3 separate regions of the Homo sapiens genome follow, and all the other regions are linked to region 1. Evidence: promoter capture Hi-C in 16 types of primary human blood cells and fetal thymus (Javierre and others, 2016). All regions are on one chromosome and are shown on one strand. Each heading gives the region's core, a stretch centred on a gene start or on the middle of the fragment in contact. The rest is flanking DNA. Distances are from core to core; before and after follow the strand shown.

Region 1 (3,118 bases), core at 198-2,697:
CAAGTAGCTGGGATTACAGGTGCACACCACCACGCCCAGCTAATTTTTGTATTTTTAGTAGAGACGGGGTTTCACCATGTTGGCCAGGCTGGTCACAAACTCCTGACCTCAAGTGATCCACTTGCCTTGGCCTCCCAAAGTGCTGGGATTGCAGGTGTGAGCCACCACGCCCGGCCAAAAACAAATACTTTTTTAAAAGAAAGTTTAAAACAAAAGTTAAAAAAAAAGAAAAAAACAGGTACAAACCTGAAAAATCTCCCAATTAACAAAGCTGGGACAATTTTAGCAACAAAATAATGTAGTATTGGAATGTAACCATTATAAGATAAACATCCATGAGTCCATACTGATATAAATAGCTAAGTGAGGGAGAAGAGGCAAACTTCCCTTGGGGAAGATAATTTATGTACATACTCCCCACTGCAGGAGGTAGAGCTTAAATACCCCGCCTTCCCACCTTGAGTGTGGGTTGCATTTATTGACTTGGTTCCAAAGTAGTGTGGAAGGGTAGGAGGAGTAATTGCACAGTAGAGAAAACTGGCAAGCACTACCTTAGAGAGGTAATCAAGGTTAACATGATCAGTGATGTCATTTTGACAGCATGTACCCTTGATTCTATGTGATGAGAACAGCCAGTCACCTTGTGGTCTTCCTCCTAAACACCCAAAACCCCAGTCTAACCATGAGAAAAATATTGGCCAAACCCAAATTGAGGCACATTCCACCAAATATCTGAGGAGTAACTCTTCAAAACTGTCAAGGTCATCAAAAACAAGAAGAATCTGAGAAACTGCCACAGCCAAAAATAGCCTAAGACGACATAATGAATAAATGCAATATGGTGTCCTGGACAGGATCCTGGAACAACAACAAAAAAAGGACATTGAAAGAAAGCTGGTAAATGTGAATAAAATGTGTAGTTTAGTGAGTAATAGTGCGCCAATCAAACTGGTTTCTTAGATGTGATCAACGTAACATAGTAAAATAATTAAGATGTTCACAATAGGAGAAACTAGGTGAGGAGACAGGAACTCTAGGTGTCATCTTTGCAACTTTTCTGCACAACTACAACTATTCTAAAATAAAAGGCGTTTCTTTTTAAACGGGAATCCTCAACAGCGCCTCTCTCATGGGGTTGCAAGAAATCAATGAGATAGTACAGACCAAGTGCAGGGCTCAGTGCTTAGCACATAAATGTCAGATGTGGTTATTGTAATATTATGTAACATTGAGGGACAAAAGCTCTGACACCTCGGTGTTTTAATTAGAGTAAGCAAAGGACAGACGCGCGTACGTCCCACCGCGTCAGCCCTGTGAACATCCAGAGGTTCCAGCCAGAGTACGTCCGGCCGGAGGCGGGGCGCGGAGGGGACGTCGGCGTGGGGCGGGGCCAGTAGCAGTTCCCACGCCGGCGCTCCAGGCGCGGCAGGCTGCCGCCCCCGGAAGTAGTGGGTACCGGGACGCCGTGAGGCGGAAGCTGTGTATGGCGGGAGGCTGTGGCGGTCCCTTGGTGGGGAAGCTGTTGCTGTTGCTAGACGACGGGAACTAGCTCTCGTCACTTCCTCAGCCCGCCGTCTGCCCACTCCTCTAGCCGGAACCTGGGGGCCCGGAGCCGGGGTAGGCACAGAGTTGTCCTCGGAGGTCCAGGACAGCGGCCAGCCCGGCGGCGGGAGTCAGGGCCACGCCACCTGCAGGGAAGAACCCGAGTCGAAGCGGGAAGATGGCTGCAGACAAGCCTGCAGGTAGGGCGCCAATGTCCCGAGCGACGAGACGGCGGGACGTGCGGGGCCGGGCGGACCCTGAACTCGGAGGCGGCGGGGCCCGGGGTGGGGACTCCAGGGCGACTTGAATTTGGGCGTGCATTTCTTTACCCCATCCTCTGTCTCGGCTGTCGCTAACATGAGTCTTCGGGCCCCGGGTCCAATAGTTGTTTTACTCAAGTGCAGTATTTGAAGTCGCCACTGGCCGCCTTTGCCCTGCTCTTCAGAATAACTCCGGCCCAAAAAGCTTAAATGTATTTTGCCGCTTCGCAGAATTTTCCGCTTCTTCGTGGGAAAAGCAGACAAGAGAAAGTCACCCTGGAGCACACATCTGCCTATAATATCGCGTGGCTGAGGCTGGGATTCACCTGGGCTGTTTTGACCACATGTGGCTTCCTCTGGTCATTGACTCCTGTGAAATTAACTTTGTAAAAACCACTTTTTTTTTTCTTGATAGAGACGGGCGGGGGTCTCGCTATGGTGCCCAGGCTGATCTCGAACTTCTGGGCCCAAGCGATCCTTCCGCCTTGGCCTCTCAAAGTAAACCACTTATTTAAAAAGGCATAAAATCCTATTGTCTCTCTACAGTCTGTGCTCCTAAAATCTTGCATTTGGTACTTAATTGCTCTAGTTCCTCGAAATTACTTAATCTCAATGGTTTTCTTTATGGATTATTGCTCCCATTCCTAGAATCTTCCACATTAAGGAATATAAAATTATTTCCTGACCTTGTCCGGAATGTTTCCCGCAAGAAATTCATATTCTTTGTGGCATCCAGGTTTTATTGGAAAGAACTTAAGTGACAGGATTTAAAAGTGATGGAACTTAAAATTTTTACAGTGAATTTAATTTAAAATTAAAGAAAAACTCAGTGTGCTGTGGATTTTAGTAGGTTCTGGTCACAATAACTGACAAATGAACTTCACTTGGAAATTAAGCCAATTCTATTTTAGGTACAGAGGAATAAAAATCATTAGAGGATCTCTTCAATAATCTAAGAAGAAAAACAACAGAACAAAGGCCTTGAGAGGGTATAAGGAATGTGCTGTGAAATTTTGGATAGGTTGTTCAGGGAAGGCCTCTGGTGAGATGATATTTGAGCAGAGATATGTAAGAAGTGAGGGAATGAGCCATAAGAAATGAGGAAAGGTGGATGAGGGAGAGACTATTAGACAGGAAAACGGCATGGCCTGTCCAAGGCTGGACCAGGGGACCAACATCTTCCTCCTTATTTTAGAATAGTGTCTGTGTTCCCCACATTTACCATTCCTACTTGCTCATACCATTGCGCTTGCCCGAAATCACCCTTTTAGACCTAAAGCCCATCCAGTTTTCAAATCCTCAGTCATAAAGCCTTC
Region 2 (2,700 bases), core at 90-2,589, 300 kb before region 1:
TGGTAGGTGGCAGATTTAGGATTTAAACCCAAGGCAGCATGACCCTGACTGCCGAGTTTCCACACATGACTTCTTTCTATGAGCTCCCAGTCTCAAAAGAGTCAACTAAAGTGAGATATGTCACACACTTCCAGTGTGGGCAAAGGGCTGGGTGCACATACAGGAGTCAGGTAACTCACCCACATTTGCCATATTGTCTTGCCACCTATCTAGCCTCATGTAGCATCTCCCACTTCTTTGGACCTCATGCTTAAGCCTGCATGAACTTCATCCCCTCTAATCTGTCATGCCCGAGTACTTACCTGGAACTCTCTTCTCCACCCACCCAAGGCTGGTTAACACCTCTTTATCCTTCAGTATGCAGCTAAGATGGCCCCTCCTCCAGGAAGCCTTCCCTGACTTCCCCATCACATCCCTGACAGGGTAAGGTATCTCCCCATGGGCTCCCATAGTACCCCACTTTTATTCTATCATTAGCATTTTTCATACATATTGCCTGTTTTCTCAGTCTGGGCAAAGAACATGTACTCCTGTGCCTGACACAGGTCCTGGCACTTTGTCAGTGCTCAATAAATATTGCCATGGGGATTGCTCATCACTCACAGAAGGCTTCTCAGAGGCCGTAACATTTTGGCTGGACTTTGTGAGACTGGCGGGCATTTGCCAGGTTAGCAGTTTTCAACCAGGGTCATATACGCATCGAAATCACCCGCGCAACTCTTCCCAAACATGGATGTCCAGCCCCGCCTGAGCACACTGAATCAGAATCTCCAAGGCTGAGCCTGGGCAGGTATAGTTTTCATAGGTTTCACAGGTGATTGCAAATGACAGCATGGGCTAAGGAAAGATAAAAAAGAGATCTCATTATCATCATCATACTCATCATCTTACTGTCAGCAACAGTTCTCAGCATTTGACATATCTTAACCCCTTTGATCCTCACAGTGTTCATTGTCTACATAAAGCACAAATCCTAAGGTGGGCATCCACAGTCCTGTGGTATCTCTCCAGCCAAGGTCCCCAGCCCTTTTCCCCAAGTCCCCACACTCCAGCCACGCCAAAGGACTGGGAATTCCTGGAATCCGTGGTGCGGTTTCATGCCTCCTTTCTTGACATATGTCATTCCCTCTTTTGCCCACCCCATAAATTTTTAATCGCCCTTCAAGACCTAGTTCCAAGCACATATTCTTTTTTGAAACTTTCTCCTCCCAGTTCAAGACAAGCTGGTTACTCCCAGCTTTGGGCCATCCCTTACAGGGATGCTACAGCTCTGCATTAATCCCACAAATATAAACTGAGTACTACTTTGGGCCAGGCACTCTGCTAAATACTGGACACAAACAGGGAGCCGTCTAACCCAGACCTCGACTCCTCCCAACAGAGATGACAGAGATGACGACCACAGCCTCCTCGGTTATCTGACTCTATTTCCCTGTGTTGCTATGGTTACAAACTCCCTGGGGGAGGGAGTTCCTCTTCTGGGAAGTGTTCAGTCAGGCATGTGGAAGGCTCTCCGTAACATTTGCTGAGTGAGGGTTGTGAGCAAATAACAAGGTGAATCCTCCTCTCCTCCCTTCCTCTCTCAGTAAAACTTTTCCCCAGCAGCTCTCAAAATTCCTTGGATTACCTAAATCCAAGAAATCTTTTATTTCACCCTTGAAGATGGTCTTTGATGCTTATGGTTATGGAAATGGCAACGTACAGGAGTCCCTCAGCCCTCAGATAATGAAGCCTCATTGTTCGATACATAAGGACTTAGGAAAAATGATAAAATAGGTAACATTTACTACTATGAGCCAGATGCTACTCTAGACCGTTTCCATATGTCTTATCCCATTTAGATCTCGCAGTTACCCTGAGGGGTCATTTCTATTGTTGTTCCTCTTTACAGAGAAGGAAATGGAGGCTGAGAGAGGCTTGCCCAAGGTTGCACATCTAGCAAGTGATGGAACTAAGGGCCAAACCCAGGCAGTTTGGTTCCAGAGTCCTGCCTCTCAGCCACACAGCCAGGCAGCACAAAGACAAAGGTTTCAGGGTCCCACCTGGCGCTAAAGACCAGGTATCCTGGCTGGCCCCGCTGTGGTGAGTACATGCCGCTCTCCCTCTGCTGGGCCTCAGCCACTCTCTTCTGCTCTGCCTCTCCTTATTTCCTCTCATGGCCCAACCAGCCTCCTGGCTTCCACCTTCTCTCTATGTCCCAATTGCTAAACCCCTCTCAATGCCTCACATTCAAACTCCGCAGGACAGAGGATCATCAGTGGAGCTCCCACTCTTACTAGGCAAAGTTCCCTTATAAGGCCACTCCAAACACTACTGGCCAACCCACTGATGGGCTGCCCTTGGCTCAGGAGCCAGCCTGATGCAATAAATTTCCAATGGATATAAGGCAGCTGATTGGTGATTCTCAGAAGGACCTGAGAGTTTGACTGGTTTACGGAACCTAATAAACTTTTTAAAAATTCACTGGAGGCCAGGCGCGGTGGCTCACACCTGTAATCCCAGCACTTTGGGAGGCCGAGGCGGACGGATCACAAGGTCAGGAGATTGAGACCATCCTGGCTAACACGGTGAAACCCCGTCTCTACTAAAAATTCAAAAAATTAGCTGGGCATGGTGTCGGGTGCCTGTAGTCCCAGCTACTCAGGAGGCTGAGGCAGGAGAATGGCATGAACCCAGGAGGCGGAGCTTGCAGTGAGGCGA
Region 3 (3,125 bases), core at 514-3,013, 450 kb before region 1:
AATATTATGGAAATAAAGTTGTCTAGACTCCGTCTTTTACGTTCACTAAATGTCATGCATAATGCTTGAGTCTCCTCCAGCCATTTCATGTATGTATCTCTTATTTCCCCAAACTCATTAACAGTTTCTCTAAAGCAGCAGCTAACTTCAGCATGCATCAGTGTCTTTTGGAGGGCTTGTTCAAACACAGCTTCCTGGCTCCACCCTCAGAGTTTCTGATTCAGAGGGTCTGGGGGTGGGGCTTGAGACCTTGCATTTTTGATAAGTTCCCAGGGAACTTACCTGCTGTTGGTCCAAGGACCACTTTGAGAACTACTGCTCCAGGGAGAAGTGCTATATTTTAAATTTTAAGAATTTACCCACCAGCCCAAGGTGCTTACCAAATGCACATGGATGGAATCTCTCCAAATCTACATCTTTGCCATGCTTTTGAAGCCTTAACTTTTACTCCTGGAGGTCTTCCTGGCTAGGCCCTAGACTTAAAAGACACTAATTCCTTGTTTTATTTTATTAGATTGTCGTTTTTGCTTTCTTCTCAGCACACTTGATAAGACACTGTGAAGAAAATGTCCCTTCTGATCTCGTTTTTAACCTGTCTTGGAACAGATCAGCAGAAATGCCTTCACTGTGAATCAAAGATACCCTCGATTTATAGCCAAAGATTATTTCCTTTTCTTTTGGTGGCTTCCAGATAAAATGTTTCTTGCTACCCTTTCACAAAATAGAAGGAGGGACCAAGCGGAAGATAATCTTTTTGTTCAGAGGTCCATCTGTCAAAGCCTGCATTTTAGAGATGGCATTACTGAGGTCCAAAAACTAGAGCCACTCGCTCTGGGTCATACAGCCGATAAACGCACGCAGCCGAGCTCAGTTCTTCCCTGACCCTGTTACAAACTGCCTCACTAAATGAGGACCCCCATCCCCTTCCCATGCCAGGAAAGCACAGCTCATTTGTCCTAAAGTTAACATTACACAAATCACACCCTTCAAGCCTTCTTGAAACATTTTTTTTCCCCGAGGGTGACGGGACGGTTACGCTGATTCATCCTGGCCAGGGACCCCAAACATCTCCCCTCCTCCGGCCCAGGCGCCGTCACCCAGGCTCCACCGGTCCGCGGGACAGAGCCGCGGAGAGCGCCTGGAAGCGTCGCGCCCTCAAAGCCAAGCGATTAAGTTGGTTCCTCAAATTGTTCCCGACAGGAGGGGCAGGAAATAACACCGGGCTCTGGCGGCGGCCGCAGCAGGAGGGGGAGAAGAGCGGGCCGTCTCCCGGGCAGTGCTGGCGGCCTCTCATCGATCTCGGGTCTAAGGTCCGGCCGGGTCATCATTCCTGCCATTTCCACAGCATTCGAGGTACCACATCACCCCCTGCCTCGGTCGTCGCTCAGTCATTCCCTCCGCGCCGAGTCCTGGAGCGGCGGAGTCCCTGGAGGCCTGGGTTTCCTTAAGGGGCCCCAATGCCCGCAGCCCCCGACCCGCCCAGGTGGAAGGAAACAGGCTGCGGGCCTGGGCCAGGCGGGGCCTGACAGAAGTAAAGGCCGGGAGGGGGAGCGGAAGACGGCCAGAAGGACCCCTGCGCCCTCTCCTCCGCGCCGCCCGCCAGGCTGCCAACCCAGCCACCCTGGGTGCGACGCGGCGCCTTCTCCGCCGCTGGGAGTCGGGCAACAGGTGAAGAGGGCGGGCGTCCGCGGCGCCTCCGCGGGGCGGTCCCTCTCCTGCCCGCCTCCCGCCCGCCCCTCTCCCCGCCCCCTCCCCTCCTCCGGGCCTCCACCGCCTTCCCCGGCTGCCCGGCAGCCTCCCCTCGCTCGCTCTCCTCTTCCTCTAGGGCCCCAGCGCAGCTCGGGAGCCCGCGCACCGAGGCGCTAGGGGCACCGCGCACTAGAGGGACACCCGCCGCGCCTGGACAGCCCCCGGCGGGCGCCCCCCTCGCACCTCCTGCCCCGCGCGGGCCGCGCTCCCCTCCCCCGCGCCTGTGTCCCCAGGGCGCAGGGCCGCGCGTCCAGCCCCAGACCCGCCGGGGTCCCTGGGGACGCGCCAGCCCGGCAGTGGCTCGACGATGGAGGAGCCGCAGCGCGCCCGCTCGCACACAGTCACCACCACCGCCAGCTCCTTCGCAGAGAACTTCTCCACCAGCAGCAGCAGCTTCGCCTACGACCGGGAGTTCCTCCGCACCCTGCCCGGCTTCCTCATCGTGGCCGAGATCGTGAGTGCCGACGGGCCGGGGGTGGCGGGGGGCTCAGCTGGACCCCGGCGCGTGCTTCCGCCGTGCTTCTCGGGATGGAGCCTGCTCAGATCTTCCCGCGGGCTTTAGGGAACCGTTTTTGCTCAGCCTCGCCTTCTTCCCAAAGTGAAAGACTCTAAACAAGGTCCAGGAAACTCGGGCTGTCCTGGGAAGAAAGGGTTGTGATCCTCAGGATGTCTTGCTGTGGGAGAAATTCAGCTTGTTGGGTCCTCTCGGTGGCGGCGGCAGATCCTGGGAGCAGGAAGCTTGGCTTAGTGGCTATTGAGTTTGTGTTGAGTGTCAGAGACACCTGGTGCCTTTCTCACCTGATCTCCACGTGGATGGCCTCCTCCCTGAAAATAAAGCTTCCTAAGATCAGGGGAAGAGGAAAGGGCTTCTTTCTTTTCCTAATTATCTCCCTGGTAGTAACATTGAGGTGAGTCAGGAAAATTTTACTGAATAAAATCTGAGTGCCATAACCTATTTTAGGACCAAAGAGGTCTTTTGCATGGTGCTGTGCACATCCTGGTTTAGGCTCAGAACATTCCTGGGAAGGAGGCAGGGCATGGGCGTTCTTCTCTTCATTGGAGGGCATAGAGGCTGAAAACTCACGTGATCTTCCCAGAAGTCCCAGCCAGTCCTTCATAGCTGAGAAAGGACTGGAGTCCTGTCAGCAGTTAGAGGTGGTCACTGTTTGAGTCTTCTTCGTGTACCAGGATCTTGTCAAGCCCTTTAGATGTCCTCATACCCTCGTGTAATCCAACGACCACCCTCCCCTGTGAAGGCCTAGAGAGGGGACGTAAATCACACCGGTGGATGGTGAAGCATGGATTCAAACCCAGGCCTGCCTTTCTGCAGGGCCGTGCTCATAACTGCAAGCAGTTGAGACAGCTTCCAGCTGCCC

What was found. The method cuts DNA at HindIII sites, captures the fragments that hold promoters and counts their contacts. A CHiCAGO score of 5 or more calls a contact.
Region 2: a contact is called between a fragment that was not itself captured here and the fragment with the promoter of CNOT10 in region 1, in 1 of 17 cell types (neutrophils). The highest score is 8.6, in neutrophils.
Region 3: a contact is called between the fragment with the promoter of CMTM8 here and the fragment with the promoter of CNOT10 in region 1, in 2 of 17 cell types (non-activated CD4 T cells and activated CD4 T cells). The highest score is 6.0, in non-activated CD4 T cells.

What each region holds. Positions count from the first base shown.
Region 1 is chr3:32,683,741-32,686,858 of GRCh38, forward strand. It overlaps CNOT10 (CCR4-NOT transcription complex subunit 10), which reads left to right and starts at 1,448. Exons shown (of 19, transcript NM_015442.3): 1 at 1,448-1,742. The coding sequence starts at 1,721. RefSeq lists a silencer at 1,249-1,558. The HindIII fragment of the contact is 5,126 bases long and covers 1-2,005 here.
Region 2 is chr3:32,383,713-32,386,412 of GRCh38, forward strand. No RefSeq gene overlaps it. Among named protein-coding and RNA genes, the nearest start is that of CMTM7, 6.8 kb to the right of the region's middle. The HindIII fragment of the contact is 6,743 bases long and covers 1-2,700 here.
Region 3 is chr3:32,236,917-32,240,041 of GRCh38, forward strand. It overlaps CMTM8 (CKLF like MARVEL transmembrane domain containing 8), which reads left to right and starts at 1,764. Exons shown (of 4, transcript NM_178868.5): 1 at 1,764-2,203. The coding sequence starts at 2,057. RefSeq lists a silencer at 1,568-1,777. The HindIII fragment of the contact is 4,195 bases long and covers 1-2,485 here.